7 separate regions of the Homo sapiens genome follow, and all the other regions are linked to region 1. Evidence: promoter capture Hi-C in 16 types of primary human blood cells and fetal thymus (Javierre and others, 2016). All regions are on one chromosome and are shown on one strand. The core of a region is centred on a gene start or on the middle of the fragment in contact, and the rest is flanking DNA. Distances in the headings are between cores, read along the strand shown. Region 1 holds the start of SLAMF1 (signaling lymphocytic activation molecule family member 1). Region 2 has its middle 5.3 kb from the start of CD244. Region 3 overlaps LOC105371467 (a long non-coding RNA gene). Region 4 overlaps LOC105371466 (a long non-coding RNA gene). Region 5 overlaps SLAMF6 (SLAM family member 6). Region 6 overlaps CD244 (CD244 molecule). Region 7 has its middle 41 kb from the start of SLAMF6.

Region 1 (3,273 bases), core at 334-2,833:
TGGCTTTTATCCAAAAGACAGGTAATAACAAATGCTGACAAGGATGTGGAGAAAAAGTACCCTTGTACACTGTTGTTGGGAATATAAGTTAGTACAACCACTGTGGAGAATGGTTTGAAGGTTCCTCAAAAAACTAAAAATAGAGCTACCATATGATCCACAATCTCACTGGTAGGTATACACCTAAAAGAAAAGAAATCAGTATATTGAAGAGATATCTGTACTCCCATGTTTATTACAGCACTATTCACAATAGCCAAGGTTGGAAGCGACCTAAGCGTCTATCACCGATGAGTGGATAAAGAAAATGTGGTACATATACACAATGAAGTACTATTCAGCTAAAAAAGAATTAGATCCTGTCATTCACAATGACATGGATGGAATTGAAGATCATTATGTTACGTGAAATAAGCCAGGCACAGACAGACAAACTTTGCACGTTCTCACTTGCTTGTGAGAGGTAAAAATTAAAACAATTGAACTTGTGGGCATAGAGAGTAGAAGGATGGTTACCAGAGGCTGAAGGGTAGTGGGGGTTGGGGAAGAAGTGGGGATGGTTAATGGGTACAAAAAAATAGAAAGAATGAATAAGAACTAGTATTTGATAATACAACAGTGTGACTATAGTCAATAATAATTTAATTGCACATTTAAAAATAAAAATATAATTGCACTGTTTGTAACACAAAGGATAAATATTTGAGGTGATGGATATCCCATTTACCCTGTGTGATTATTACATATTGCATGCCTCTATCAACATATCTCATATACCCCATACAAATATATGCATACCCCATACATATATATATACATACACACACACACACACACACACACACACACACACACACACACACATATATGTATATCTACTATGTACCCACAGACGTTAAAAATTAGAGGAGAAAACACACACACAACAAGGAGACTGAGCTGGAAGGATGGAGCTCTGGGATAGATTTGTCCTACATCCCTGCCTGGGAGGGAATCCACACACATGCAAGAAGACAAACTAGGAGCATGGGCTACTAAATTATACCACATTGCACTCATCGGGGTCACAGGGTTTCTTCCAAGTGACCCGCACATGCCCTTCCCATCTCTGTGTGACAGTGGCACCTGCACCAGACTGCATGTTGAGGTGTCATCTGAAATTATGAAATAAAACAGAAGTAAGAGGTCTATTAGCTCATCAAAATGCAGTTATCTAAGTTCAGCTGTGAACTGCCAAATTTGAGGAGTGATCCAATGAAACATCTTTTCTTTGCAATCCAAGAAGACTTACCGGAGAGAACTGCTCAGAGAATCTGCAACATCCGGTTCCTGGAGACAGCTAAGGAAAGAAGCTGGGGCGCATGTTTCTGCCCAAAGCCGGGTTTTGGCCGAGGTGACTACACACCCCCTTTCCTGGCTCCCATAGGCTAAGTGCCTGGCTTCTTGAGAAGCCTGCTTCTTGAGAACAAAAAAGTGATTTAAAGCCTCATGGGAGATGAGCAATCCTCAAGACACAAGCAGAAAAAGTCCCAGTGATACAGGAAGCGGGTTCAGGAACCTGCTGGTTCCTGATACATAAATCAGACAGCCTCTGCTGCATGACACGAAGCTTGCTTCTGCCTGGCATCTGTGAGCAGCTGCCAGGCTCCGGCCAGGATCCCTTCCTTCTCCTCATTGGCTGATGGATCCCAAGGGGCTCCTCTCCTTGACCTTCGTGCTGTTTCTCTCCCTGGCTTTTGGGGCAAGCTACGGAACAGGTGAGTGTTCATCTGCCTGATGGTTTGAGTCCCATGTTAGCTGCCAGGAATCAGCGTATCTTCGTGGATGGAGAGAAGGTGCAGGGCTGGGTATTGTGTTTGGTCACTCTTCCTTAGGGACTGGCTGTCAGTTTCAACTGCCTCTTTCAAAGAGGAAGGAACATTATAAGTTCCTGGGCCCTTGGGTTTCCAAGACTCAGCCCCACCAACCCCAGTTTCCAAGGAAATGAGGGGCTCTAAGCCAAAGGCTCCAGTCACTTTTCTGACCAGTCTTAGGGTGACAGGCCCTGGTAGAAGTCTTGCTTGAGTGGTTGGTTTTACATGGGCATCTTCTGGCAAAGACCCAGCCTAGAGAGACTGAGCTGGATGGACTGAGCTCTGGGAGAAGATTTGCCCTACATCCCTGCCCTGGGAGGGAATCTGTGCACATGCAGGCTGACAAACCAGGAGCATGGGTCAACAGAAAGCATTGGCTAGAGTGGGAAGAGAGAGTAGAAGTGAAAACTCCAGGCTTTTGGCTGAGAACCAGCAGTGGCCACAGTGCGGTCATACTGGTGTGTATTTTCTTGGAAGAGAAGGTCCAAGAAAGCAAGAGGGAAGAAGTTGGGATTTCTGAAGGCTAGGGCTGGTTACAGTATGTGGGAAATGCAAATTGGGAACCCTCAGAGAGTAGCTCCAGCAGGAAGGCCAGACAAGAGCTACCTTTGGATCTGGACTCTGTTCCTGTCTTTCTGTCTATCTTCTTCCCAAGGCAGGCTATTGCTTTCTGTTTAGAAGTATCAGGGCTATGAGAAAAGGTATTTGAGAAAGAAAAAGCCAAGCAAGAAGTGGACTTTGGACTGCCTGTGTGAGTGGGGTGAGAATCTCCTTCTGCTTATTTGTTTAGACTGTGGGAGGTAGCCTGGAGTAGAAGAGGTGGCATTACGGACACGGGGGGAAATCCTGAGGCCCAGGGTGTTTTAAGCTTGGGGTTTTCAAGACCGCAAATCCAATATGGACTTTTCCAGGAAAAGCACCGTGATATGCCAGGGATGTGGGGGTGCTGCACAATGGATGTGTCTTTTACCAGACAGCCAGACGAACAGGGCTTGCTCAGCCCACTTTCTTTTGGAATCTGCAGATCCATGGCTCGTACTTCCCAAGGTCTAGGGGAGGAAGAACTGAGCTCGGGGCTCAGAAAACCAAATCGAGCCACTTTAAGTGGTCACAGGGAAAGCCAAGCCTCCGTTGTTGCAACCAATTTGTGACTGCACCATTTCTGGAGCACCTCTTGGTGACTGTAAGGTGTGATGGAGTGATGGTGCTGAACTGTGAACTGGACTTTTCCATCTCTGTGCTTGCTAGCCTCTTGGCCAGCCTGGCCCATAGCATCTTAGGCACTGCTGACCAATAGCTCGTCTTATTGAGGCTTTGGAAGTCGCCGGTCAGGGAGAAGCAACCCAGCCCCACAAGGCAAGTCTATCCAATCGGAGGCTGCTCACTTCATTGCATGTTTTCTTCTTTGAATCTTCACAAA
Region 2 (2,935 bases), core at 228-2,727, 220 kb before region 1:
GAGTGGCCACAGGCAACACTCTTAACATTTTCACTTCTTACATAACATGGAGTGCCATCTTTCCAACCTTCAATATTAATTTCTTCATCATCAGTAGGCCTATTACCAAGCCAATGCTACGTGTTTTAGGTATTTACTGAAGCTGGAGAAAGGAGTGTGTTGACTGGTGTCTTGCTTCTCCTAAAGGCTTCAGCCTGACAGTGACACTTTCTGCTTACATTGCTTGGCCAGAGCAAGACACATGGTCCTGTTTAACTCCAAAGAGAAGTGCAGCCTTCCATGTCCCCACCCTGCCCCAAAAGAGGAGAATTGTATCAGAGTGAACAACACTAATGATTACCTGAAAGGTTTCATGATGAGGTGGTATTAGTGGTCTTTCTTTGTGGTTGTAACAAGCAGCCAGAGACGCATGGCAGCTAGGTCAGCTCCCTCTCTCACTCTCCTTCTACCCCCGTCCACCTCTCTCTCACCTTCCTTTGTTTCACAATGCAATGGACGCTTATCATGACACAACCCAACAACTAGAATATTATTATTAATCTACACCTACCTCTGTGTTCCTCTATGTCACTCCATCCCTCCCTTCTTCCTTAGTTGTTGCCATTATCTCAATTTGTGGTTAAGATCCTATTGCTTAAGCTACTTTTTAACAATCATGCACACACATCATGCAGATGCCCAAATAATATGTTTAATTTTTTGTTTTTAAACTATATAAAAATACTATCATATTGTATATTGTCTTCTGGTGCTTATTTTTTCCTATGACATTATGTAACTACTGTTCTCCTGTGCTGTCCCACATTCATTTTTGATGCTATTGAATTTACATTGTATGAATAGATCACATCTTGTTTTTCCACTCTCCCATTGCCATTTGTTTTGTCTCCAGTTTTTTTTCCAATAAAAAACAATGCTGTTATGCACATTGTCATATGTGTCTCCAGGTATATATGTGCTAAACTGTCTCTTATATGTAGGTATATAACTAGATGTCATATTGCTGGATCATTAGAGTTTATAAATATTTTACTTTACAAGATAACACCAATTTATTTCCACAGAATTGTACCAATTTACATTCCCATCAGCTGTATATAATTGATCCAATTGATCCATATGCCCTCAAATACTTGGTATTACCAGACTTCTTTATTTTTGCCCATTAAATTCTTGAACTCAGCCGCCCAAAATGTTAAGATTACAGGTGTGAGTCATCGCACCTGGCCAGAGGCAACTTCTTAGCAGGAGAGGGTATGCCAGAAAAACCCAGAGAGCTTCACATGAAAATCATGTAGGGAGGTCAGTTAGCACACGGATAGGGGAAGAAGAAGAGGAACTCTTAGAGAACAGGAAGCCAGTTTTAGGTTCTTCATCTTCTATAATCTCATATGTGAATGTGTGGGCCCATGCAACCTGTGTGGTAGGTTCAGTGACACATAGAATCAGGGAAACTCTCAGCACTGATGAGGATTCTACATGAGGGATAAACAGCAATGTGAAATAGAATAAAATAGCAATGTGATGTAGAATAAAATACTCCACAGTAAAGTTTTGTCATGTCAAAACAATTTCATGGTCAATTATGGATATTCAAACCACTAAAATAACAATTTGGTTGTAAGTTGTATTGGTCTGTTTTCACTCTGCTGATAAAGACAGACCCAAGACTGGGAAGAAAAAGAAGTTTAATTGGACTTACAGTTCCACATGGCCGGGGAGGCCTCACAATCATGGTGGGAGGTGAAAGGTACTTCTTACATGGTGGCAGCAAGAGAAAATGAGGAAGGAGCAAAGTGGAAACCCTGATAAACCTGTCAGATCTCGTGAGTCTTATTCACTATCACGAGACTAGCACAGGAAAGACCCTCCCCTATGATTCAGTTACCTCCCCCTGGGTCCCTCCCACAGCACGTGGGAATTCTGGGAGATACAATTCAAGTTGAGATTTTGGTGGGGACACAGCCAAACCATATCATAAGTTTATCTGATTACACCACTAAACTTTGATCACATTCATTTCTTTCTAGGTGTCAACGTAGCACAGAAAAATTAAAAGAGAACATTGGCTTGCACAAATGACTTTATCATTATAACCCCAATTTTGATTTTCTGTATTTGTAATTCACAAACTAGATAAAATTCACAAACTAGATGGTAGGGCACTTAGAAGTCATTATGTTTTTTTTTTTTTAATTGCAAAACACTTGGTCTACTAATATGTCAAACATAAAAATCTCAGAATATAATTTCATACTAAATCAGATTCTGATTTATACAATGTAATAAAAGATACAAATGTATAAGACAAATTTATATTTAATTATCTTTAAATAGGAGGCTAAATAGGAGGCTATTCTATGGTGCATTTCCCTTGCAATTTGGGAAAACTTTTTTGTACCTTTTTCACGTAGAAACATTTTGTTCCAACACAGGGAAGCAGAGATTGATTCCATTTCCCACACCACATTGCTAGTGTCAGAGAGATAGCCTGCGGTTCTCTGCATCGTCAGAGCTGTTTCTCACACTGAATCTGGGAATGGCAAATTTCTTGTTATGTTGAATTCTGAGATGAGTTAAGACATGGATTGCACTCTTTAGCCTTTGCTCCTGTGGATGTGGGTTCTCTGCGTTATCTGATGTCCCATAAATTGTTTTGAGAGGCTCTGTCTTCCATCTTCTTTATGAGACTGTTGCATCTCTTACCTTTAACCTGAACCTGAAAGTTATCACAGCCAATAAATAAACAATAACTGGCTACTTCTCTTCCAACAAGTGAAAGCCCACAGAAGATAAATGTACATAGAAGGGAAAGCGATTTTCTAGCCCTTCTGAGAAAAAGAGACAGAAAAAGAGATTGTGCTTATTAAAAGTGTCGTTATGGTTTCATTCAAACAGGAACACAGACAATATTCAGATGGTTAGAAATAAAGGC
Region 3 (2,856 bases), core at 165-2,664, 210 kb after region 1:
AGTTGTATATATTTACAGAGCACATATGATGTTTTGATACAGACATATAGTATGTAATGATCAAATCAGGGTAATTGGGGTATCCATCATCTCAAGCATTTATTTATCATTTATTTGTGTTAAGAACATTCCAATTCCCCTATTTTAGTTATTTTTAAATATACAATAAATTGTTGTTAACTACAGTCACCTTATTGTGCTACCAAATACTACAACTTATTCATTCTATTTAACTGTACTGTTATATCCATTAACCACTCCCTGTTTATCCCCCTGTACCTACTATTCTCCCCAGCTTCTGGTAAACATCATTCTAGTCTCTCTCTCCATAACTTCAATTTTTTTTAGCTCCCATATGTGAATGAGTACATGTGATGTTTGTCTTTTTGTGCCTGGCTTATTTTACTTAATATAATGTCCTCCAGTTCCATCCATATCGTTGCAAATAACAGAATTCCATTGTATATATGTACCACATTTCCTTTATGCATTCCTCCATTGATGGACATTTAGGTTGCTTCCATATCTTGGTTATGGTAAATAGTACTGCCATAAACATGGGAGTGCAGACATCTCTTCGAAATACTGATTTCCTTTCTTTGGGCGTACACCCAGCAGTGGGATTGTTGGATCATATAGTAGTTCTGTTTTTAGTTATTTGAGGAACCTCCATACTGTTCTCCATAGTGGCTGTACTAATTGACATTCCCACCAACAGTGTACAAGCATTCCCCTTGCTATACATCCTTGCTAGCCTTCTCAAGAAATCTTTTGACAACTTCCAAGGTCCAATTACTTTGACACTCAATTTTTAGACAGCAATTTCTTGGATAGAGTTTGGTTATTGAAGAGAATGAGGAAGCTCTTCCCAGTCAAAAAGATGTTGTGCCCCATCCTTTATTTCAAGGAAACCTTTCCTGACAACCTTGGTCAGTTTCCTACTGTAAGATCCCATAGTCCCCTATACTTCATCACTACATTCATCACCTTTGAAATTAAGTGATTACTATCTGAGAACAAAGACTATGTCCATGTTATTCAGTGCCATGCCACCAATACCTAGCATAGCTCCTGGCACATAGAAGGTGCTCAACAAATATTGGTTAAATGACAGAATGAGTGAAAAACAGTAAACACAGATAAGACAGTTTCCAGCAACATTTAACTACAAGGTCGTTAAGATCTTGAAGTTTGTACAGTGACCACCACTTGGGCAAAGAAACTTGAGAACATATTTCTAAATTATTGATATATGATGCTACCTACAATTATTGAAATATGGTGTTACTTTTGTGAAAGGAAAATAAATCTTGGGGCCCCAAAATCACTAACCTAAATGGAAAAGTCAAGCGAGGAACTGCTTAAGGCAAACCTGCCTCCCATTCTATTCAAAGTCACCCCTCTTCTCACTGAGATAAATGCATATCTGAGTGCCTCCTTCGGAGAGGCTAATCAAAAATTCAACAGAATGCAACCATTTGTCTCTTATCTACCTATGACCTGGAAGCCCCCCTCCTCACTTCGAGTTGCCCCACCGTTGCTTCAAGTTGTCCTGCCTTTTCCAGACCAAACCAATGTTCATCTTACATACATTGACTAATGTCTCATCTCTCCCTAAAATGTATAAAATCAAACTGTATTCTGACCACCTTGGGCACAGGTCATCATGACCTGAGGCTGTGTCATGGGCATGTGTCCTCAACCTTGGAAAAATAAAGTTTCTAAATTAACTGAGACATGTCTCAGATATTCAAGGATCACACTTTCATTCTATACCCATAGCAATTAATGCAAATATTGAAGTACATTAAGTCACCTTATCTGAAACTATCTAAATATGGTAAAACTCATGAATTTCCTCTGTTCTATTGGTCATTGATATGGTTTGGCTGAGTCCCCACCCAAATCTCATCTTAAATTTTTGTTCCCGTAATCCTCATGTGTCATGGGAGAGACCAGACGGAGATAATTGAATCGTGGGGGTGGTTACCCTCATGCTGTTCTCATGATAGTGAGTTCTCACAAGATCTGATGGTTTGATAAGGGGCTGCCCCCTTCAGTTGGCACTCACTTCTCTCACCTGCCGCCATGTAAGACATGCCTGTTTTGCCTTCTGTCATGATTGTAAGTTTCCTGAGGTTTCCCTAGTCATGAGGAACTGTGAGTCAATTAAACCTCTTTTCTTTATAAATTATCCAGTCTTGAGTATATCTTCATAGCAGCATGAAAACAGACTAATACAGTAAATTGGTACAACAGAGAGTGGGGTACTGCTATAAGGATATCCAATTATGTGGAAGTGACTTTGGAACTGGGTAACAGGCACACGTTAAAACAGTTTGGAGGGCTCAGAAGAAGACAGGAAACTTTGGAACTTCCTAGAGACTTGGAGGGCTCAGAAGACAGGAAAATGTGGGAAAGGTTGGAAGTTCCTAGAGACTTTTTGAATGGCTTTGACCAAAATGCTGATAGTGATATGGACAATGAAGTCCAGGCTGAGGTGGTCTCAAATGGAGATGAGGAACTTGTTAAGAACTGAAGTAAATGTCACTCTTGCAACGCAAAGAGACTGGCAGCATTTTGGCTCTCATTCCCTCTCCTGCCACAAAGTGAAGAAGGATGTGTTTGCTTCCCCTTCCACCAGAATTGCAAGTTTCCTGAGGCCTCCCCAGCCATGAGAAACTGAGTCAATTAAACCAGTTTCGGGTATTTCTTCATAGCAGCATGAGAATAGACTAATACAGTCATGTTGGCAAAAAAATTTCTAGCCAAAGATAATTTATATTGGAAACTGCTCCTTCAATTTCTATGGCCTTTAGTGATAAGATCTCATTTTGGCCCTTTTTTTGTGTCATT
Region 4 (3,228 bases), core at 474-2,973, 250 kb after region 1:
CATGTGCAGGCACTGGGCCGCACTGGGGCTCCTGGCAGTGACCACGACCAGGTGTATGAGGGAGTGGCAGGAGAGCTGGGGAAGGGTTAAGGGAAGTAGGGAGGACATGGGTGTCCCCAGCCCTGCCCCAAAGCACACCCCAGTGCTAGGCAGCTAGTGTGTAATTTGACACAGAGTCGGGGCTGCCGTGGCACTGTCTTGACTCTCAGGCAGATTTAGTGTGAATTATCTTCACATGCTGCTAGCCTGTTTCACAGACCCCAAAATGGCCCAAAGAACTGGAAAAAGGGCTTCTGATGCCAGAATTACAGATAATTCCATAGTCTGGCCCCACTGAAAGCTTGAAACCTAAGTCAGGATGTTAACAGACAAGGCTTCCCAATTAACAGGTATCAGGCATCAGGCTAGAATAAGCTTAGTCCCTCCTTTCTCTGACGGTGAGGTTGGGGGCTTTCAATTACATCTCTGCAATGAAAACACTGGATTACAGAGTCCAACAAAAAATTTTATTGGTGTGGTCTGTCCCATTCAGCAATTCTCTGTATTACCTTCTACCTTCACCTCAGGATAGAATCCCATCTGGATTTCACACGTCCCCAAGTCACTGAGTAAGCAAACAGAGACCCAGCTAGAAGGCCCATGTGCCCTATGGTCTAAGGGACCTAGCTTAATTCTTTAGAAGGAAGGAGAGCACTGAAATGACATTCAACTGAGATTTTCCTAAAGGGGCCAACCTACAATAACAGAGGGAGGCCAAGAGCCTGAGGGACAATAGAATGGAACAGATTGGATTTTGTACAGCTCCTGTCCTTGAGGACATAGTCGAATTTCTTAATTTCTTCAAGCCTCAATTTCTGCTTATATAAAAAGGGTCTAATGAGGTAACAGAAGGAACACCCTCCATATACTCATAGTGCCACAGTCAATTCCCAGTCGAGTTTCCCCTCTCTGTTCTGTGCCTAGGATACTTCTCTTAGGAGAGAACACTTCTCTAGGACACTTCTTTCAGTACTCTTCCTCGGGGAAGGAGGCCCCTAGCTAAAAGCCAGGGCCCTCCATTAAAGCCCTTTCAACACCTCACCAGCTCACTAGGTGGAGGTGGGGCTGGTGGGGTCAGATCAGAGGCTTCCCAGGAGCCCTGGGAGTTGGACCCTCCTGGGGAAGATTCAAGGAACTCAAGAAGTGACAGTAGACTCTCTCTGAGGGAAGGTCCAGACTATAGAGAAGCACCTACCTACTTCCTGTGTGGATGAAGCTGTCCCTGGAGGTCAGGCCCAGACCACAGTAGCAAAAGTTAGGTTTTCTGCTCTGATGAAAAGTAGGGCCTTTTTACAATGCTGCTCAGAGAAAGGGAATCCTTGGTACCTTACTCATAGAAGCTTCACACTATAGCAGAATGGCCATCAAAGTGTTTCCATGTAAGCAATTAGCAATTTTAGCCACCTCCCAGGTACAGGTGACTGCAGTAATGTACCCACATGCAGGGCCACAATCACCATCTACTTCCAGCCCTGCTGATGAGCCTGGGTACAAGTTGATCTCCCGGAATAGTTACAGATCTTTCCCCAGCACCCACCTTCCCAGAAAGGCTACTCTCAATGCTCACAAAAGGATTTCCAGACCCAGTCTATATTGGGAAATACCTGGGTTCTGGGTGTGAGGGGTTTCCCCCTTCACTTTTAGTTAAAAAAAAAAAAAAAAAAGAATAAAAGTAGCTCACACACAAAAAAACTTAACTGGTCAAGAACTGTATTATGTCATAGGCTTGTGGTGAAGTGTCTGTCATGTGAGATCCTGATCTCTAAGAAGAAGGACCATGCCTCATTCATTTCTATATCTCTGGCACATAAAATTCAATAAGTTAGCATTAGCTGCCTTCCCTTCTAGCTTCCTTCTCTTTCTCCCTTCCTCATCTATGAAACCTTGACCACTCCCTATTCATCCAACCTTTATTAAGTGTGAGTTTCCTCAAATCCAATCCCATTATCATTAATCTAAAATGTTACCTGCAATTAAACCAGTGGTTGTGAACTTTGACTGCAGATTTTAATCACCTGGGAAGCTTTGAAAACACATCAATGCCCAGGACCATCCCAGACTAATTAAACCAGAAACTTCTGAGGTGTGACCCAGCTATTGGCATTTTTTTTAAGATACCTCAGTGATTTTAATGTGAGAACCACTGAATGAAACTTTCTGATTTCCTTCCTCCTTCTTGGGAAGAATAGACACTCTCCAGCTCCCTTGGCTGGGACTAGGCCCTGCAGGTGTGCGTTATATCCTGTCCTTTCCCACCTCCATCCATTATTCACAATCTCTCCTGTAACCAACTTCGGCCTCTTCACTGATCTTTGCCCAGCAGACATAATAAAATGAAATACCTTCCTCCACTCAGCAGCCTCCTCTTGCTTTAGCCTTCGCTTTTATTTCTTTCTCATCCAACCTTCTTAAAAGAGTAGATTCTTAGGCCAGGCCTGGTGGCTCACACCTGTAATCCCAGCACTTTGGGAGGCTGAGGCGGGTGGATCACCTGAGGTCGAGAATTAGAGACCAGCCTGACCAACATGGAGAAACCCCGTCTCTACTGAAAATACAAAATTAGCCGGTCATGGTGGCAGGTGCTTGTAATCCCAGCTACTCGGGAGGCTGAGGCAGGAGAATCGCTTGAACCCAGGAGGAGGAGGTTGCGGTGAGCCGAGTTCGTGCCATTGCACGCCAGCCTGGGCAACAAGAGTGAAACTCCATCTCAAAAAAAAAAAAAAAAAAAAAAAATGGATAGATTCTTTACTATCTCTCTTCCTCCCTTCACTCCTCAGCTCCTTGCACCCCAGCCATCCTTCCAATGTGTTTTCTACTCCTGACTTCAAATACTATTATTTCCCAGAATTCAGCCTTTGGCCCCCTTACTCCCCACTCCACATGCTTTTCCAAAGCAATGTCATTCACTCCTGTGGCTTCAGTCAGTACTCACTTATGAGTGCTGCTAAATCCAGGTCTATCTTGTGAGCATAAGACTCAAATTTTCAACTTCCTACCATACATTTTAACTTGGATATTCCTTGGGTATCTTAAATGTAATAGGTTTAAAAGGAACAACATTATCTTCCTTCCACCTCTATCCCCTTGGCTTATTCAGACCTTTATCATTTCCAAACATGTCTCATTCCCTTCCAATCCGTCTTCCTCCCATGTTGCCAATGTGATTTTTATGAAAGGGAAATCAGCCTG
Region 5 (2,919 bases), core at 274-2,773, 140 kb after region 1:
AATGGTTACCCTAGTCATGCAAATTAACATATTCATTATCTTGCACTGTTACCCTTTTTGTGCAAGTATGGTAAGAGTATCTAAAATCTACTCTGAGCAAATGTTCGGTATACAATACAATAATATAAGTATAGCCTTCATGTTGTATATTAGATTCCTAGACTTATTTACCCTACATATCTGCAACTTTGTACCCTGTGACCTACATCTCCCCATTTCCTCTCTGTTCCCTCTCTCCACCTCTGATAACCACTGCTTTATACTTTGTTTCTATGTATTTGGCTTTTTTTAACTCCTTTTTTTCTTTTGCTTTTTTTTTTTTTTTTTGAGATAGAGTCTCACTCTGTCACCCAGGCTGGAGTGCAATGGCATGATCTCAGCTCACTGCAACCTCTGCCTCCCAGGTTTAAACAATCCTCCCCAGCTGGGACTACAGGCATGTTCCACTCTGCCTGGCTGATATTTTTGTATTTTCAGTAGAGACAGGGTTTCACCATGTTGGCCAGACTAGAACTCCTAGCATTTTTAAGTTGCCTCTTTTTTTGACCCATCATTTGTTTGGTTGCTATAAACCTTTGACTAGTTTCTACAGTTCTGACAAAGTTGATTCTGACAATGTTTGCTCACTCTGTGTGTGTTCGCATGAGTGTGCATGTTTTTTGTGGAGGGATGGACCCTTGCAGTTATTTATTGTGCCATTTTGACTAATGTCACTGACCCTCAGACTTTAGGCCAGCAATTTCAACAAAGTAGTCACCATTCCCCTGAAATCCCTCTCCCCTTTGATGCCACACCTACCTATACTATGCCTATTGCTAATATTAGGTGATCCCCAGCACCTTCTTTCCCTGTTCCTGGGCTACAAGTGCTATAATCATTGGAGAAAGTTATTAGTGTGGTGCAAAAGTGATTGCGGATTTTCCCATTGAAGGTAATGGCAAAATCCGCAATCACTTTCGCACCAGCCAATGCAAAACTGGATGGACTCCATGAATGGTGCGTGTCAACCAAGCTTGGCCAATTCCTCCTCACTGCTTCCACACTCATTTATTGATGACTTGTCAGTTTCCTAACAAATTCCTCATAGCAGCTTTTACATGTCTCATCCGTCTTCCTCTAGATTCTATGAGATCTACTTCTCTTAGAACAACTTTGAGAAAAACATAAGCGAAATATTCCAACTTCTTCCCCTTTACCCTCTAAATCTTTTGAGATCTTTAACCTTATTCTTTTCAGTCTCAAAAGAAAAGGAGAACCACGTCTACCCAAGACTAACCTCTTCACTTATGCTCCTAAGCCCACCCTGGCTTCCTCCTCAGAAATGACACCGTTTTGAATACTCCCTTTCACCATATCTTAAGTTTTTTCTTTTTCTCCCAGCTGCTTCCCTTTGCTCCAAATTTGCTCAGGACTCTGTTACCTAAAGAGTAACTTCCATTTGTCCTACCTTCTCAATATCCTGACTATGTTTCTCCTCCCTTCTCTTTAAATTCTCTTGAGAAATCAGCCCCTACTCTCTTTCATACTGCATTTGCCTCCTGTGGAGCTAACACAGCTTGCTATATTCCTGTTAGCTATAGATGGGCCTAAGCTAGTCCCTCAGGTTAGAAACCCAAAGTTCCTTGACTTTTCTCTCTTTTTCAGAATCTGCTTAGTTCTACCTCTCTCCTCTCTTTCCTAAGACACTGCTCTCTTTATACTTTGCCAATTTTCAAAAATACTTCATGTTTTTTAATACCTTCCAAACTAACCCTCCACTAATCAGGTAACCCTTAAAAACTTCTCTATTCTAATTCCAATCTACTTAACATTCACTGAGTTCCCTGGACCAGGTTATGGGGAAATACAATGCTGACTAAGATATTATTTGAGTTCCCCAAAACACATCATACAGTAGATGAAACTTGTAAACAAATGTACCCCAAATGTCTGCTGTCTTGACATCCTCACCAGTGGATGGGCAAGACCTCAGCATCACCTTCATGTTGCAAGGAGTTCCCCAGTGACTTATGAGAGTCTCAAAGGAAAGCTTCCCATGAGTCCCCAAAGCAGCCTACGAGTTGTAGCCAACATGAGGCATCTTTCCCATTCTTAATCTCCTTTTCTGGTTCTAGTCCCCCACACAGGATGCCAGCAGAGCCATTTAGATGCCCTGCTTATTCCAAGAACATCAATGTCCATGCCAAGGGTGCTGGTCCCGGATGCTCCCAAAGCATCAGTGTTGATTCCTGGCAGAGCAGAGAAAAGGACCTCCATGTGCCCTCTGGGCCACACCACAACACCTTGGCCCTGAAGCAGCTCTGCTCCTGTCCAAAGTCTCATGCAGGGTCTTTTAAACATTTTCAGTAGCATCTGACCTTCACTGTCCCTAAGCATATTGTCTCAAATCTAGTTTTGCTTTGGTTTGGTTTTGGGTCTGTGGGGAACTATTCCTACCATCTCATCCATCCTGTGCTCCTTCTCCCTTTGCTTCACCACAAACTCCTTTCTCCCCTTCCCCATGTACCAATGCAAAACCCCCATAAATATAAGAGGCAAACAGATATTTTAGCTCATCCTTGAAGGATAAATAGGAGCTTACCATGTAGGAAAGATGAAGAAAGGCATTTTAAGCAGAGGGAAAAGCAGTGCAAAAAAAAAAAAAAAGCAAGGCATTATTGGAAGAATTACAAATAATTAAGTAATGGAGAACTCATAGCTTTTATTCAAGACTTTGCTACAGTGTCATCTCCTGTGAACTGTTCCCTGACAACTCCCAACTCTTCCCAGTTCATGATTCTCTAAATTTTTGCTCCCATGGAGCACATATCTCTAACAATTCAACATTTATTGAGCTAGAAATTGTGTGCTAAGTTCTAGGAATATAGAAATAATAATCAGAATCCCTGACCTCAAGATTATGGAAAAGAAAAGAAAATA
Region 6 (3,107 bases), core at 571-3,070, 200 kb before region 1:
ATACCCGCTTTCTAATAGGAGGGACGTGAACTTCATGTTCTCTTAGTTCCTTGAGTTTTATTGTGAGCTCTGCTCAGCTTCTCAGCCTTTTAGCTGCCATTTATGGAATCAGAAGATGCCTCCAGGGAACAACAGTCAGAAATGCTGATCTCACCTCTCTGAATTTCCTTCTTCCAGATATTGGCCCCATAATTTTTCACTGCTTTATAAACTCTCTGATAACTTTAACAATGTGCTTTTACATGTTGTTCATTTTTCTTCTAGCTATTTTTAGTGGGAGGATTGGTTAGCATGTCTTAACCTGGATTTTCATTACATAATTAGAATTCCTTCGATGATTTTTTATCTCAACAATTAAGGGGATGCTGTAGAATGAAAGTGTTCTGTTTCCAGATCACAAACTCTCTGGAGTCAGGAATCATGCCTTATACATGAAGAGGCCCTGCCTCTTCAGGGGCTGGATTGCAGTGGGACTCAGTAAGGACTGAATAATTGATGAAGACAGTATATGTCCTCCTTGTAGGTTTAGTAATGATTTTTTCCATTCACCTTTGTTCTCAGGGTCTTTGTGCAATATTTGGTAGGTTGACTTGTTCTTATAAATAGTGCTAGGATCGTAGGAGACAGAGACACAGAGATGCACAGCACAGTCTCTGCTTTTGAGAAGCTTTTGGTTTGCTAATGGGCAGAGCCAGTACAAGTCATATAAATATAAATGGGAACCTATGTGTTTTAGTCTTAGGAGCATCAAGATCAAAGAAACATATTTCATCAAACAAATAGTATTACAAGTCCTTTAATTATTTACTTAGTCTCTTGAGAAAATGCCAGGGTGAAGCTGTGGCTTGGAGAGACTGCATTCATAATGCACTGGACATATAAAAACCCCTCTGTCTCAATTGCTCTCTTCTTAATAGCCTCCATTTTAACGGAGCCACTTGTAAAACTCTCCCCATCTCTTATTTTCTCTTCCAAATCCTCCCTGAGCCTCCCCAACTCACCCAGAGAGACTTTTTAATTTCCTGCACCTGCTGGGCCATGCCACATAGCTTTATTACTAAAAATGGCTGTAGGAACTTCCAGTTTTGTACACTGACTGCACAGAATTGCTCTAGGTTGTCACACCCCCATATTCATTAGGTTTCATCTTGATTCTTTGAGAGGCAAGTGCTGGGATCTGCCTGGGAAGTGTAGTTTTATTTTTAAAATTGTTTTCTAGGGAGAAATTTTTGTGGAGACTTTCTGATCACTGAAAAACTGGCAAACATCAATAAGTAATGACCAAAATCCAATGAACCAAGTGCCACGAGAGAGGATTATGTATTCAGCTCTGTGAGAGGATGGTTGAGGGGCCATGAGTTCAGCTTGGACGGTTAGTCTTCCTGGGCCTGACCATTCAGAATTTCCAACAGTCACTACTTGCCATTAGTAGTTGCCTCAGCACTGCTTGGAGGGAGTCACCTTAGATGTGGTATTTATAGCATCATGGTTAAGAATTTATCCTCTCAAGCCAAACTGCTGTCTTTACAAAGAGTAAACAAATAAGCTCCCTAGCACCTGTGCTCCCAGCTACTAGGGAGGTTGAGATGGGAGGATCACCTCAAGCCCAGGAGTTCAAGGCTGCAGTGAGCTGTGATTGCGCCACTGCACTCCAGCCTGGGTGACAGAGTGAGACCCTGTCTCTAGAAAACAAAACAAAAGAAAACAAAAACATAACACCAAACTGACTAGGTTTCAGGCTCATCATTCTTTTAACTCATCATACCTTTTAACTTAAATAGTTAAAATGTATAAAGTGTGAAACCTGCCTGTCACATAGTAAGTACTCAAGATTTTAGCTATTGGTCTATGGGATCCCTCAGACTAGGGACACAGAGCTTGGGGACAAGGGGAGGCAGATGGAGGGGATATGCTTTAAGGTGCTCCTAGGTTCTGGGCTCCTCATACTCATCCCCACCCAATTGGCTTAAGGGAAGTCACATCCAGCTGCCCACATTGCTCAGGCCTGACACTCTTCCCGCTACTTTCAGCTTGGGTTCTCTTTCCTAGGATGCCAGGGATCAGCTGACCATGTGGTTAGCATCTCGGGAGTGCCTCTTCAGTTACAACCAAACAGCATACAGACGAAGGTTGACAGCATTGCATGGAAGAAGTTGCTGCCCTCACAAAATGGATTTCATCACATATTGAAGTGGGAGAATGGCTCTTTGCCTTCCAATACTTCCAATGATAGATTCAGTTTTATAGTCAAGAACTTGAGTCTTCTCATCAAGGCAGCTCAGCAGCAGGACAGTGGCCTCTACTGCCTGGAGGTCACCAGTATATCTGGAAAAGTTCAGACAGCCACGTTCCAGGTTTTTGTATTTGGTAAGTCTCCAGGACTGTTCATACTGCCCTCTCTGATTCCTATAGGCCTCTAAGTTCTGTATTTCCAATGCCTTTCTGATCAGAATCTCTGCTTCCAGATAAAGTTGAGAAACCCCGCCTACAGGGGCAGGGGAAGATCCTGGACAGAGGGAGATGCCAAGTGGCTCTGTCTTGCTTGGTCTCCAGGGATGGCAATGTGTCCTATGCTTGGTACAGAGGGAGCAAGCTGATCCAGACAGCAGGGAACCTCACCTACCTGGACGAGGAGGTTGACATTAATGGCACTCACACATATACCTGCAATGTCAGCAATCCTGTTAGCTGGGAAAGCCACACCCTGAATCTCACTCAGGACTGTCAGAATGCCCATCAGGGTAAGTGGAACACACTGGGCTATAACAAGCGCTGAAGGTTTGGACCCCGCAACCAGGCTCATGTGCAAGACAGATGTGGTATGAGATAAAATCCCTTGGCCTCCTCTCCCAGTGCCTTGTAGCCCTTCCCAGGGTAGCCCTGGCCTCCAGGCACACAGTTCCTGTAAAGCTAGGCCTATCCTACTCTGGAAAAAAATGTTATCCCTATTTCCTTCTGGGAGATGCAAGCTTTTCTTCTGCAGAGGGAGGGCATAGTTGTTTGGTGAGTGACAGTCCTGAAATGGCTCCTGAACATTATTTTCTTCCTGGGAGAGGCTGATGGAGAACTGTCCTCTCCTCTTGAGTGATAACTTTCTCCAAGCCACA
Region 7 (3,029 bases), core at 362-2,861, 160 kb after region 1:
ATGTGGGTCCCATTCACTTCTCCATCTAAGTACTCTTCTTATCTGATGTCAGCCATTCCTATTGCCTTAATAGCCTTTATAAGCTAATGGTTCCCAAACACATCTTTAGTCCTGACCTCCTGGCTTACCTCATTAACTGCCTACTTGGCATCACCATTTGCATATCTGGTAGATATATCAAAGTTTTTTAAAAAATAAAAACTCTTGGGCAGATGTGGTGGCTCATGCCTGTAATCCCAGCACTTTGGGAGGCCGAGGCAGGTGGCTCACTTGAAGTCAGGAGTTCGAGACCAGTCTGGCCAACATGGTGAAACCCGGTCTCTACTAAAAATACAAAAATTAGCCGGGTGTGATGTTGGGTGCCTGTAATCCCAGGTACTCAGGAGGCTGAGGCAGGAGAATCACTTGAAACCAGGAGGCGGAGGTTGCAGTGAGCCAAGATCATGCCACTGCACTCCAGCCTGGGCAACAGAGTGAGACTCTGTCAAAAAAAAAAAATCAAACCTCTTGATTTCTCTTATCAAGCCTTTTCTTCTACTATGCTTTTTCATATCAGTAAATGGTATCATTGTTATGGGACACTCTTGAACAGATCTCCTTTACAAAACTGAAAACTACCCAGTACTCACCATATAACTAATCATTTTTGTTTTCTTGTGGGAAACAAATGGATTTAATCAACAAAAACCTAATCTATTGTTCTAAAGTTAAATACATTAAGACCCAGATGCCCCATTCCTAAAAGATGAATCATGCATTTTGCAAGCAGGGAAGAAAACATGCAATGCTTATAAAATTCCTACCAAAAAACAAACTTTCTTTGCCCAGGAGGTAAGCTTGTTCTTTAATATTTTTATTGTAGAATTAAGGAAATGGTAGCCCCATTAAACTACTTTGAATAAGGTAAGATGGCTGTGATTGGCTATCCTGGAAAGGTAATAAAAGGGAATAGAAATACTCTTCCCACTCTGCCAGCCCCCAGTCATTCCCACTAGGAGGTCACAAAGTGTTGACAAGGCCTACAAGACCCCTACTCACATCTCTACTCCTTCTTTCACAGCATTCCAGCCACACTGTTCTTTATTCAGCTCCTAGAATAATCTAGACTCTCCTTCCTACTTCTGTGCCTTATGGATACTGGGACCACATCCCTATGAGGCAACAATTAGCTGGTGCTGAGTAGCCTCTGTTCTATTCTAAATGGGGCTTGCACTTCACATTTCACTCCTGGCCTGCCCTGCCTGCTTCACTCACTTAAGATACCTACCTAGTACTGAAAATAGTTAAGTTTCCAACCTCTTACCTACACCATGAAGCTTTGCCCCACATCATGTTGGTCAAAAGAGCACATTAACTAGTCCCAAAATAACAATGTCTGATCTCACTTGTCCACACCCCATCCCACCCTCAAGCCAACACCTGAACCCCGTGTAGCTTTAGGACACTTACTTGAAGCTTTCATCATTTAGCCTCCCTCAGGGTTCAGTGTATACTTTGATATGAGGAAGCAGGGCCACAGCTAGATGCAGAACAGAGAGAAGGCTACCCTGTCCAAGGTCACTGGATAGACATTTCACCCTGAGTTTCAAGTTGATGAAAAGAATGGACTAAGAAGTGACTTCTCAAATGGGGAGGGAGCAAGTCTGACCCCCTGAATTTCCCCTTCCCAGAGGCCATCTAAAAGCACTCTCTGTGGGAAGAAAGGAAGGGGACATCATCACTGACCTTTTACTACCAGACGACTAGAATGGCCACATCCAAAGCTTTTGCTTCCTCACCCCTAGCCCACTCTTCTGAAGCTGCATTCTTGAAGGATACCAACCTCTAGAGGCAGGGATCTTTTCTCTGCATTCTGGTGCTCTCTGCAGCATTTGACATTACACAATCCCCCCATCACCCTTGAGGTTTCCCTCCTTTTAATGCCCATTAAGTCACCTCATCCTACTTTTGTCTTTCTGTCTCCTCCTTACCTCTCCTTAGCTTGGTTTCTCTTATTATTTATGTCCCATAATTAGATTTGTTTCCCTAGGTTCTGCTGACTGGATATTTTCCTGGATGTCTCGTAATCACCTTAAATTCTGTTTTTCATTCTCCCTTTGACTTCTAATGACCCAAGGAAAGTAGAACATCCCTCTCAGGATCCAACAACAATCCAAAACACAAGGTGAATTCATGGCAACTTAAAACACAAGGTGAATTCATGGCAATTTAAGACACAGGAGGAAATAGAGGGGCAGCCAAGATGGCCGAATAGGAACAGCTCCAGTCTACAGCTCACAGCGTGAGCAATGCAGAAGACAGGTGATTTCTGCATTTCCAACTGAGGTACCGGGTTCATCTCACTGGGTAGTGCTGGACAGTGGGTGCAGGACAGTGGGTGCAGCGCACCGTGCATGAGCCAAAGCAGGGCGAGGCATGGCCTCACCCAGGAAGTACAAGGGGTCAGGGAATTCCCTTTCCTAGTCAAAGAAAGGGGTGACAGACGGCACCTGGAAAATCGGGTCACTCCCACCCTAATACTGCACTTTTCCAACGGGCTTAACAAACCGCACACCAGGAGATTATATCCCACACATGGTTTGGACGGTCCTACGCCCACAGAGCCTCACTCATTGCTATCACAGCAGTCTGAGATCAAACTGCAAGGTGGCAGTAAGGCTGGGGGAGGTGTGCCCACCATTGCCGAGGCTTGAGTAAGTAAACAAAGCAGCCAGGAAGCTCGAACTGGGTGGAGCCCACCACAGCTCAAAAAGGCCTGCCTGCCTCTGTAGGCTCCACCTCTGGGGGCATGGCACAGACAAACAAAAGGCAGCAGTAACCTCTGCAGACTTAAATGTCCCTGTCTGACAGCTTTGAAGAGAATAGTGGTTCTCCCAGCATGCAGCGTGTGATCTGAAAACAGGCAGACTGCCTCCTCAAGTGGGTCCCTGACCCCTGAGTAGCCTAACTGGGAGGCACTCCCCCAGTAGGGGCAGACTGACACCTCACACGGCTGGGTACTCCTCTAACACAAAACTTTCAGAGGAACA

The links. The method cuts DNA at HindIII sites, captures the fragments that hold promoters and counts their contacts. A CHiCAGO score of 5 or more calls a contact.
Region 2: a fragment that was not itself captured here is called in contact with the fragment with the promoter of SLAMF1 in region 1 in 2 of 17 cell types (total CD4 T cells and naive CD8 T cells); the score reaches 5.6 in total CD4 T cells.
Region 3: a contact is called between a fragment that was not itself captured here and the fragment with the promoter of SLAMF1 in region 1, in 15 of 17 cell types (non-activated CD4 T cells, activated CD4 T cells, total CD4 T cells and 12 more). The highest score is 20.6, in non-activated CD4 T cells.
Region 4: a contact is called between a fragment that was not itself captured here and the fragment with the promoter of SLAMF1 in region 1, in 12 of 17 cell types (fetal thymus, activated CD4 T cells, total B cells and 9 more). The highest score is 11.5, in fetal thymus.
Region 5: a fragment that was not itself captured here is called in contact with the fragment with the promoter of SLAMF1 in region 1 in 7 of 17 cell types (non-activated CD4 T cells, activated CD4 T cells, naive CD8 T cells and 4 more); the score reaches 11.5 in non-activated CD4 T cells.
Region 6: a fragment that was not itself captured here is called in contact with the fragment with the promoter of SLAMF1 in region 1 in 4 of 17 cell types (fetal thymus, non-activated CD4 T cells, total CD8 T cells and 1 more); the score reaches 9.2 in fetal thymus.
Region 7: a fragment that was not itself captured here is called in contact with the fragment with the promoter of SLAMF1 in region 1 in 2 of 17 cell types (non-activated CD4 T cells and total CD8 T cells); the score reaches 6.6 in non-activated CD4 T cells.

Annotation. Positions count from the first base shown.
Region 1 is chr1:160,645,354-160,648,626 of GRCh38, reverse strand. SLAMF1 (signaling lymphocytic activation molecule family member 1) reads left to right here and starts at 1,583. Exons shown (of 7, transcript NM_003037.5): 1 at 1,583-1,757. The coding sequence starts at 1,682. LOC107985220 (a long non-coding RNA gene) reads right to left here and starts at 1,618. Exons shown (of 2, transcript XR_001738266.2): 1 at 1,292-1,618; 2 at 1-1,154. RefSeq lists enhancers at 1,452-1,501, 1,542-1,751. The HindIII fragment of the contact is 11,196 bases long and covers 1-1,611 here.
Region 2 is chr1:160,866,695-160,869,629 of GRCh38, reverse strand. No RefSeq gene overlaps it. Among named protein-coding and RNA genes, the nearest start is that of CD244, 5.3 kb to the right of the region's middle. The HindIII fragment of the contact is 3,347 bases long and covers 1-2,935 here.
Region 3 is chr1:160,433,852-160,436,707 of GRCh38, reverse strand. All of the region lies in intron 2 of LOC105371467 (a long non-coding RNA gene), which reads left to right. Among named protein-coding and RNA genes, the nearest start is that of VANGL2, 35 kb to the right of the region's middle. The HindIII fragment of the contact is 3,442 bases long and covers 1-2,856 here.
Region 4 is chr1:160,395,777-160,399,004 of GRCh38, reverse strand. The region is part of intron 3 of LOC105371466 (a long non-coding RNA gene); the gene reads left to right. Among named protein-coding and RNA genes, the nearest start is that of VANGL2, 3.2 kb to the left of the region's middle. The HindIII fragment of the contact is 683 bases long and covers 1,382-2,064 here.
Region 5 is chr1:160,501,426-160,504,344 of GRCh38, reverse strand. All of the region lies in intron 1 of SLAMF6 (SLAM family member 6), which reads left to right. Among named protein-coding and RNA genes, the nearest start is that of SLAMF6, 20 kb to the left of the region's middle. The HindIII fragment of the contact is 1,017 bases long and covers 1,015-2,031 here.
Region 6 is chr1:160,840,844-160,843,950 of GRCh38, reverse strand. CD244 (CD244 molecule) reads left to right here. Exons shown (of 9, transcript NM_016382.4): 2 at 2,050-2,367; 3 at 2,466-2,741. Among named protein-coding and RNA genes, the nearest start is that of CD244, 20 kb to the left of the region's middle. The HindIII fragment of the contact is 2,302 bases long and covers 670-2,971 here.
Region 7 is chr1:160,480,651-160,483,679 of GRCh38, reverse strand. No RefSeq gene overlaps it. Among named protein-coding and RNA genes, the nearest start is that of SLAMF6, 41 kb to the left of the region's middle. The HindIII fragment of the contact is 308 bases long and covers 1,458-1,765 here.